2 separate regions of the Homo sapiens genome follow, and region 2 is linked to region 1. The links are contacts of gene promoters, found by promoter capture Hi-C in blood cells and fetal thymus (Javierre and others, 2016). All regions are on one chromosome and are shown on one strand. Each heading gives the region's core, a stretch centred on a gene start or on the middle of the fragment in contact. The rest is flanking DNA. Distances are from core to core; before and after follow the strand shown.

What was found. The method cuts DNA at HindIII sites, captures the fragments that hold promoters and counts their contacts. A CHiCAGO score of 5 or more calls a contact.
Region 2: a contact is called between the fragment with the promoter of TFF1 here and a fragment that was not itself captured in region 1, in 1 of 17 cell types (M2 macrophages). The highest score is 6.8, in M2 macrophages.

The regions. Positions count from the first base shown.
Region 1 is chr21:42,139,121-42,143,652 of GRCh38, reverse strand. It overlaps UMODL1 (uromodulin like 1), which reads right to left. Exons shown (of 23, transcript NM_001004416.3): 23 at 657-1,557. Among named protein-coding and RNA genes, the nearest start is that of UMODL1-AS1, 33 kb to the right of the region's middle. The HindIII fragment of the contact is 352 bases long and covers 2,779-3,130 here.
Region 2 is chr21:42,364,041-42,368,587 of GRCh38, reverse strand. TFF1 (trefoil factor 1) reads left to right here and starts at 2,053. Exons shown (of 3, transcript NM_003225.3): 1 at 2,053-2,177. The coding sequence starts at 2,093. LOC105372815 (a long non-coding RNA gene) reads right to left here. Exons shown (of 3, transcript XR_937755.3): 3 at 3,476-4,547. RefSeq lists an enhancer at 1-1,005 and a silencer at 1,632-1,731. The HindIII fragment of the contact is 25,271 bases long and covers 1-4,547 here.

The sequences.
Region 1 (4,532 bases), core at 1,705-4,204:
AGGAGAATTGCTTGAACACGGGAGGTGGAGGTTGCAGTGAGCCGAGGTCACGCCATTGCACTCCCGCCTGGACAACAAGAGCGAGACTTTGTCTCAAAAAAAAAAAAATTACTTGAAAACTGTAGATGAAGTTTGAAAGACAGGGTTTTTAAATATATGTCAATGACTTTATCTGAAATCCAAAGAGCCACACAGTCATGGGGCTCAACAGCTGGTTTTACTGAATATGTGTCATGCTCTTCCAAGAAAGGCAAGTGAAAGCTCCTCAGCTGACATCAGAACAGCGGGACATGACTTGGGAAGAACCAGAGATGCGTTTCTGGCCTCCCCAGCGTGCCCAACACAGCACCGGCCCTCGTTGGATGCTCAGCGAGCCTGTGATGGACCATCCCAAATGGAGCATCCAGCACAACCAGCCACATTTCAGTGTCTTATGCGATTGATTCTACTTGATCAGAATCTGTGATCCACACATATTACCCACTGTCATTCTTTACTGACTCTGAGAATATCCAGTAAATCAAAATACTCCTTTCCCCAAATGTTCTGTATGAATGACAATTAATTATATTCAACAAAATTAGTATCATGGGTTGAAAACTAAGGCCATGTTATAATTCTAAGTTCACTGAGGAAAAACACTCTACTTTCAGGTGTGAGCTATCTAATACAATTCCAGTTTATTTCAAATGAAGTACAGAGCATTATCTCTTAGGATGATGTAATGGAGAAAATTCTAGACTAAAATACTTAGATTTTAGAACCATTTTCTTGCTAATTCATTCTGTGACCTCAATTAAGTAACTCATCGGCTCCTCTGGTTTCTCATTGTGTAATGGGTAAATCACACCTCCCACTGTGGTCGGATTATATGAAGAAACGGCTGTGAAAATGCTTAGAAAAATGTAAAGAGTGATGTGTACCTACGTTATTTCTGCTTATTGAAAAGGTTGTCACATTAATCGAGTGCCTTTTGAGTCGCTGTCGTGTAAATAAAAGCAATACCTTGGTACACAGGAGAAAAGTCAAACAGCATAAACATCCACTAAAAATAACATTAGCAGTGTATTTCTAAGACTGACCTATTTTCGAAAGAGCATCAAGAGCGCGGTCGGGTCTCTCTGAGAATGTGAAATATTCTATATTTGCCAAAGGGTGACGGACGCCAAGGGAGGGCAAGCCCAGGAGGGTTCTGAGGGCTGGTGTGGAGGGTCACAGGCCTGGGAGGTCTAGGCTGCGGGGGCCGCGCGGGTGGTGGTGTAGCCGCAGCACCCCCAGGACTGCCCCCGTCTTCCGCAGCCCCTTCATCTGCCCCTGGGCTGTGGCTCCTCTAGGACCTACAGGACGGCCTGCCTCTTCGGGACAGACGGTGGCTGCTGTCTTCCTTTCTGGGCTCACCCGGGCTCTGGCAGAGCCCACCCGTCAGAGCAGACCTCCGTTAAGGCTTGAAGAGTTAAGAACCGAGGGATGGGTGGAGGTGCAGAGAGACACTGGGGATCCCGGGGGAGCCCACCAGGGAAGCTCTGAGGTTCTGGAGGCAGCTTGACTCACGGCGACCTGTGTGGAGGAAGAGGTCACCTGGGTCAGCTTGCACGCAGGAAAGGTAAAGTTAATACAGAAAACCCCAGGAGGAGGGGTAGTGGAGGAAACACCAACCCGAGGACATGGCGTCTATGTTTACTGGAGAGGGACAGATCAAGCCCCTAATGAAAAGGCAGCCACTCCCAGAGTGCCCAGTGGAACGGGGACCATGGGGCTGTGCCTGCCCTCAGGTGAGCGATGCTCCTGACACGCCAACTGGTGGGGGTGGCTGGTGAAGATACCTGAGCCAGACGAGCACAGCTGGGGCCCCTGCACCTTTGCACCATCCGTGGAGAACCCACCAGGACTCTGGGAACATCTCTGAGTGGGGCTGCCCAAGGGTCGACCTGGTGGGGGTGGGTGGGTTGGCTGATGGTTTTCAAAGAGCAGATGTCTGCAGGAACTTTAGAACTGGTGAGACAGTTCTCACTTCGAAAGACAGGAGCCCCGGGAGAACAAAGAAAGACAAGAGGCCAGTTTTCCCTCGGATGTTTTAATTTCGAGGAAGGGGACATCCAGCATGACCCAGCACCAATACACCAGATTTCCTTAGAAAGCTAGCGGGATAGTGTTGGCCTCATCGCTGGGATTCGCATCTTAAATATTAAGTAAAAGGCACTGACATTTCCTCGTAACTCTATCTAGGGAGGTGACTGGCCTCTAGCACTGGCCCTGTCTATGCTGTAAGGGTCCTGAGACCCCAGAATACTGCGTATGTTAGTTACCAGGAGTCCTGGCAGGAGAGACGGGAAAGACAAAGCTAACACAAGCATCCCCCTCACATGGGCAGAATCACATCCACAGGCGGGTGGTGTTTTCTCTGAAGTTGCCCAGCAAGGGCAGCATGGAGGTTGCCTTTTGGAAACGTGTGCTGTAGTCTGGGCTTTGCTGGTGACCTGGGAGGATTGGCTTGAGTTCTCTGGGCCCCATTTCCTCATTTTAAGATTGGAGCCAGTGTCTACTATACTTTGCTGAGTTGTTTCAAAAATCTGTTATCTCAAGAAAATAAGGACCTGAGCACAGGGAAGACGGGCTTGGCTGGGGAAGCTGCCTGCCTGACGAAGAGGGGGCGGGCTGGTATTGACAATGTCTCCTGCCCAGGATGGGAGGCAATGGGGTTGGTGAGGAGGGGGTCTTCATGGCCCAAACCCCATGGGCCCCAAACCAGAGGCCAAAAGCTACCAAACTGAGGAAGCTTCCTTATTTTTCACTATTAGAGTGTAAAGTTGAACTGAAACTTCGCTGTTGTTCCCTGCCCCTTTGGGATCCCCGGAGGTGGCTGAGGACCCAGACCACAATTGAGCAGCAGCACCTGCCTCCCGGGGAGGCTCAGGGGTCCTGGGAAGGCTCCTTCCCTGTAACCACAACAGTTGCTGCCTCTCAACTGGGACACCTGGTGTCCCCACTGCAAGAATTAAGAATTGTGGATCCCCTTGCACAGCTGCTAAAATACAAATTCTCCGGGTCTCTGATGAAGGGGAAAGGCAAGGGGCATTGTTCTAAGGGTCCATCAGTCATGTGAACACTAGTGTAAGAAAGGCTCTAAGCTTGGTAGCTAAGAGAGCTGACCCCAGAGCCAAACGGAAATCCCATGCAGCCCCAGCTCGGCCACCTCCCAGCCATGTGACCTGGGAGGCCTATCCCTTCCTGCCCTGGACCTCCCAACCACGTGACCTGGGACACATCCCTTCCTGCCCTGGACCTCCTAGCCACGTGACCTGGGACACCTATCCCTTCTTGCCCTGGACCTCCTAGCCACGTGACCTGGGACGTCTATCCCTTTCTGCCCTGGATTCCCATCTATAACACAGGATGCTAATAACAGCACAACCTCACGGGGATGTTGGGAAACAACAGACATTGTCAACATCAGCCCACCCCCTCTTCGTCGGGCAGGCAGCTTCTCCAGCCCAGCCCATCTTTCCTGTGCTCAGGTCCTTATTTTCTTGAGATAACAGATTTTTGAAACAACTCAGCAAAGTGTAGTAGACACTGGCTCCAATCTTAAAATGAGGAAATGGGGCCCAGAGAACTCAAGCCAATCCTCCCAGGTCACCAGCAAAGCCCAGACTACAGCACACGTTTCCAAAAGGCAACCTCCATGCTGCCCTTGCTGGGCAACTTCAAAGAAAACGCCACCCGCTTGTGGAAGTGATTCTGCCCATGTGAGGGGGACGCTTGTGTTAGCTTTGTCTTTCCCGTCTCTCCTGCCAGGACTCCTGGTAACTAACATGCGCAGTATTCTGGGGTCTCAGGACCCTTACAGCATAGACGGGACCAGTGCTAGAGACCAGTCACCTCCCTAGATAGAGTTACGAGGAAATGTCAGTGCCTTTTACTTAATATTTAAGATGCGAATCCCAGCGATGAGGCCAACACTATCCCACTAGCTTTCTAAGGACATCTGGTGGGTCGGTGCTGGGTCATGCTGGATGTCCCCCTCCTTGAAATTAAAACATCGAGGGAAAATTGGCCTCTCGTCTTTCCTTGTTCTCCTGTTGGCTGAGAGGGTGGGCAGTTGATATGGTGTGGGTCTGTGTCCCCACCCAAATTTCATGTTCAATGTGATCCCCATATTAAAGGTGGGGCCTGGTGGGAGGTGGTTGGATCATGGGGCGGATCCTTCATAAATGATTTAGCACCATCCTCTTGGTGCTGTCTCACGATAGAGCTCTCATAAGATCTGGTTGATTAAACATCTGTAGCACCTGCCCCAACCCCTTCCTCCTGCTCCAGCCATGGAAGACGTGCCTGCTTCCCCTTGGTCTTCTGCCATGATTGTAAGTTTCCTGAGGCCTCCCCAGAAGCCGAAGCCGCATGCTTCCCTTACAGCATTTGGAGTCAGCAGTCTCACACGCTGCCAGATAAGCCTCATGATTGCTTCTCTTCTTCTTTTATTAGTATTTATTTATTTTTGAGGCAGGGTTCCCCTCTGGAGTGTAGTGGGGCAG
Region 2 (4,547 bases), core at 804-3,303, 230 kb before region 1:
AGTGTAGGAGAGGATGCACGTGGTTTCTGCGCACTATGTCATTTTATACCAGGGACTTGAGCATTTGTGGATTTTGGCATCCCTGGGTGGGGGGTCCTGAAACCAGTCCCCCAGGGGTACTAAGGGACGACTGCATTGTATTTTAAGTTCATTTTCCCTTTCCCTGGTTAATGAATATTTATTTTGCTTTTCTTTCCCTCCTTTCCTTCCTTCCTTCTTTCCCTGTTTCCAGCTGTTACAAACAATGCTAAAAAGAATATCTTTGCCTGTGTTTTCTTCTGCCCAAGTATGAACATGTTTCTGGGATTAAGAGACCAGGCCTGGAAACAGAAGAATTTGCTGAGCTGTAAAATCTGTATGGCTTAAACCTCACCGAACACTGCCCACCTTTTCTCCAAATGATTGTGCAATTTACATCCCATTTCCAAGAGCCCCCATTTTGATCCGAGAAATTAGAGCAGCGAAAACCACCGTCACTATGAGCACCACCCTGGGCCTGGTGCCCCCGTCCTGTTTTCAATAAACTTAAGCTGACCACAGAGGACACCAGGCCTCGGCCCCTCCCTGGGTCCTGCGGTCAGGCCCCTCCTGGAGACCCTGGCCCAGGAGTGGAGACCCCGGTGCAGGAGTGGCAGCCCTGGAGGAGGGGCTGGGTCCTGGGATGGAGCGAAGAGGAACATGGCCGCCCCCATTCTGGCCCAGGCTCCCCTCCCAGAGGGGCTGCAGAAATGTACTGACTAGGTCACCCAAGAAAAGATAGTACCTTTGTTAGGCTAGCATGCATTTTCCTCAGGGCCTAATTTCTCACTGAAGAAGAAAAGATTTCTCCTGTTGTCCATTTCTTCATGCAGCTCTTCAACAGCTGTTTCTCGAATGCCAATCAAAGCCACTGTTCTAGGGTCTGGGGCCACCTCAAGGCACTAGGAGATGAGGACTTCTGCTCCCATGCGCCCTCCCGTCTGCTGCAGGGAGGAGTGCAATGAATAAATAACCAACATAATGTGTCAGTCACTTGTTTTATCCACCAGGAGGTAATAAGAGCTATGAAAGAGAAAGCTCCGAGCAGGGGAGGGGAGTGAGGCATGGTACAGGAGAGCAGGAGGCTGTCCTCTAAAATACAGGAGTCCAGGGGACCAACTGGGAAGGTGTGGGAGGGGGAGGGAGGGAGCCCCATAGACACAGGGGAGTGAACCACGTTCACTTTGTCAGTTTTTGATGGCAGCTCGTATATACTATTTTTTTCTCCCTCCTGCCCCCAGCCCCTCCCAGAAGGAGACTTAATCTGTCGCTCAGGCTGGAGTGCAGTAGGGTGATCTCGACTCACTGCAACCTCCGCCTCCCAGGTTCAAGTGATTCTCCTGACTTAACCTCCAGAGTAGCTAGGATTACAGGCACCCGCCACCATGCCTGGCTAATTTTTGTATTTTTTTTTTTTGTAGAGACGGGGTTTCGCCATGTTGGCCAGGCTAGTCTCAAACTCCTGACTTTAAGTGATCCGCCTGCTTTGGCCTCCCAAAGTGTTGGGATTACAGGCGTGAGCCACTGCGCCAGGCCTACAATTTCATTATTAAAACAATTCCACTGTAAAAGAATTAGCTTAGGCCTAGACGGAATGGGCTTCATGAGCTCCTTCCCTTCCCCCTGCAAGGTCACGGTGGCCACCCCGTGAGCCACTGTTGTCACGGCCAAGCCTTTTTCCGGCCATCTCTCACTATGAATCACTTCTGCAGTGAGTACAGTATTTACCCTGGCGGGAGGGCCTCTCAGATATGAGTAGGACCTGGATTAAGGTCAGGTTGGAGGAGACTCCCATGGGAAAGAGGGACTTTCTGAATCTCAGATCCCTCAGCCAAGATGACCTCACCACATGTCGTCTCTGTCTATCAGCAAATCCTTCCATGTAGCTTGACCATGTCTAGGAAACACCTTTGATAAAAATCAGTGGAGATTATTGTCTCAGAGGATCCCCGGGCCTCCTTAGGCAAATGTTATCTAACGCTCTTTAAGCAAACAGAGCCTGCCCTATAAAATCCGGGGCTCGGGCGGCCTCTCATCCCTGACTCGGGGTCGCCTTTGGAGCAGAGAGGAGGCAATGGCCACCATGGAGAACAAGGTGATCTGCGCCCTGGTCCTGGTGTCCATGCTGGCCCTCGGCACCCTGGCCGAGGCCCAGACAGGTAAGGCGTGCTTCTTCCTGCTCTGTGGGGCCACAGCCAGCTCTGGCAGCCTCCGCCAGGAGCCACTGTTTTACATACATATTTTTGAGCACCTGTTTTGTGCCAGGTGCTGTTCTAGGCCCTTAAAAGTATATCCAATTTACAGGATCGGCAAAAGCAGGTGGAGAGTAACTCAGGGTGGCAGGGCCCCCGGAGACCTTCGAGAAGTGCGACGAGGAGGGGGCTGCCTTCAGTCGGGGCTGTTTTCCTGTGTTAGGAAGACTATACAATCCTCCCAAGTGTCATGTTTCAAAGAGGAAGTGTTGGCGTGGGGTCTCAGAATAGTGCTTTTGACTGTTCATGCCAACATCTCCCCCAGGGGCAGACCCTCCCAAGGCCCATCCAGATAGGCCCAAATGCCGGTCCCAGTGATGGCCACCTGGGAGACCCTCTCCCACAGGCCCGAATGCCCGTCCCAGTGGTGGCCAACTGGGAGACCCTCTCCTACAGGTTCCTGGGCTCCCCTGGGATCCATGCTCTGGGAGTCAAAGCCACCTCTCTCATGAGTGCGTGGCTGGCAACCCATATTCCCTGGTGTTGTCAAGTGGATCGGTTGCCCTGGGTCCTTCTAGGGAGTGGAGGAGGAGGCCATTCTTGCTTCCTTGGGAAGTGTTTGCATCTCAACTCCTTTACCTGCAGAATGGATCAACGGTCTGCCCTAGGGCTGTCAGGAAATGCTGTGTGGCAGCATCTGCGACTTGCACTTTGCCAGCTGTGGGGAGCTGAATAACTTATTTGCCGTTATTAGGTACAGTTTCAAGGTGGGGGCAGGAGAAAGGGCTTTCTACGTTTCCAAAGCAAGGGTTTCCAGAGAGGCCTGAAGAGGGAGCGCCCAGTGGTGCTGTCCGTGCCCCCACTGCCCTCCAGCCACCTCTTGATCTCTGCTGTGGGGTACCGGGCCTGAGGGGTGGGCTTGGGCAGCGTAGAAGAGCAGCCAGCATTGGGCTGCAGTGGGAAGACCCCCAAGCCCATGGCAGGGAGCGGGGGAGCTTTGGAACCCGAGAGAGGAAGTGGCCTCGGTGTACAGAACGAACTGGGTGGGTCCCCGTGCTGGCCACCCCCAGGCCCATCTGCCTGCGCCCTTGCCCCCACCCCAGCCCCCAGCTCTGCCCCCTGTGCTGTGGGATCACAGAGGCCGTGGCAAACTCCCCTCCCCACCCCACACACCCTCTGGCTCAAGGCTCAGAGCGTCTTTGCGGGTCACTCAGGTCCATGATCCTGTTACAACTGAAATCTAGAAAATTGTGATTACAGTTTAGTGCATTCGTGTGTGGAAACCATTTCCATTTATTTCCATCATGCGACAAAGACAAAGCGGGTGGGCAAGACAGAGTCTGCCGGAGGCAGAGCACCGGGGCTGGAAATCTTCCTCCCTGAGGAGGAAACCCCCCCGACCCCCAGGATGATGATCCTCCCTCACCACGGGGCCTCTCTTGACCCCCACAGTGTCCCGGGGGTGGGCGATGATCACCTTCACGTCGCGATGGATCCAGACCCCAGGAGGGCAAGGTTCCCATGGAAGCTGCTGGGCAGCGGGAGCTGAACACGGATCCTTCCCAGCAAGCCAGGAACACTTTCTCCAAAGACATCTCGAGGCAGTCCCTGATAGCAAAGCAGACAAGAGAACAGCCCCTCTCGGCCTCCCCTGGGGCGCCCTCACCTGAGCCAGTGTGGCCAGACTGAGTTCCTCCCCTCCTATGCCCCAAGGCAGGGACAGGGACCGGAGGGTGCTCTGGGCTCCTCTTTCACCCCCTGCTGCAGGCTGTCAACCACCAGATCCTAATAGGTTGCTTTCTGAGACCTTTGATTCCGCGGAGCTCAGAGCCTGAAGCTCTGGTGTTAGAACCTCTTGCATAAGATCCTGCGGCAGCCCCCAGCCAGCCCCATCTGTCCACGTGTCTTCCTCCTCTAGATCCCTTTCCTCACTGCCCTGCTTCAAGCTGTTTCACAGCTTGTACCCTCTGTCGGCTCCTCCTAGACCACCCCACCCGGTCCTCTCACCTTACCTGCAATGGGTTTCCACCTCCTGAACACACCTGGGTCTCTGGAATGGCCTTTGCCCATGCGGCTCCATCTTCACCTGGTGAACCTCCTCCTGCAGGGAGCCCCCCTGCTTTGTTCAACCTGCTTGTCATTGGCCTCTCCGGGGAGTGCCCTACCCCCGTGGTTACCCTGGGCACCCTGGGACGATGGCCTTGCGTTGTCTCGCACATGTTCTTGCCTTTCTCCTCCATCAGATCCTTAGACTCTTTTTTTTTTTTTTTTGAGATGGAGTCTTGCTCTGTCACTCAGGCTGGAGTGCAATGGTGCGATCTTGGCTCACTACAACCT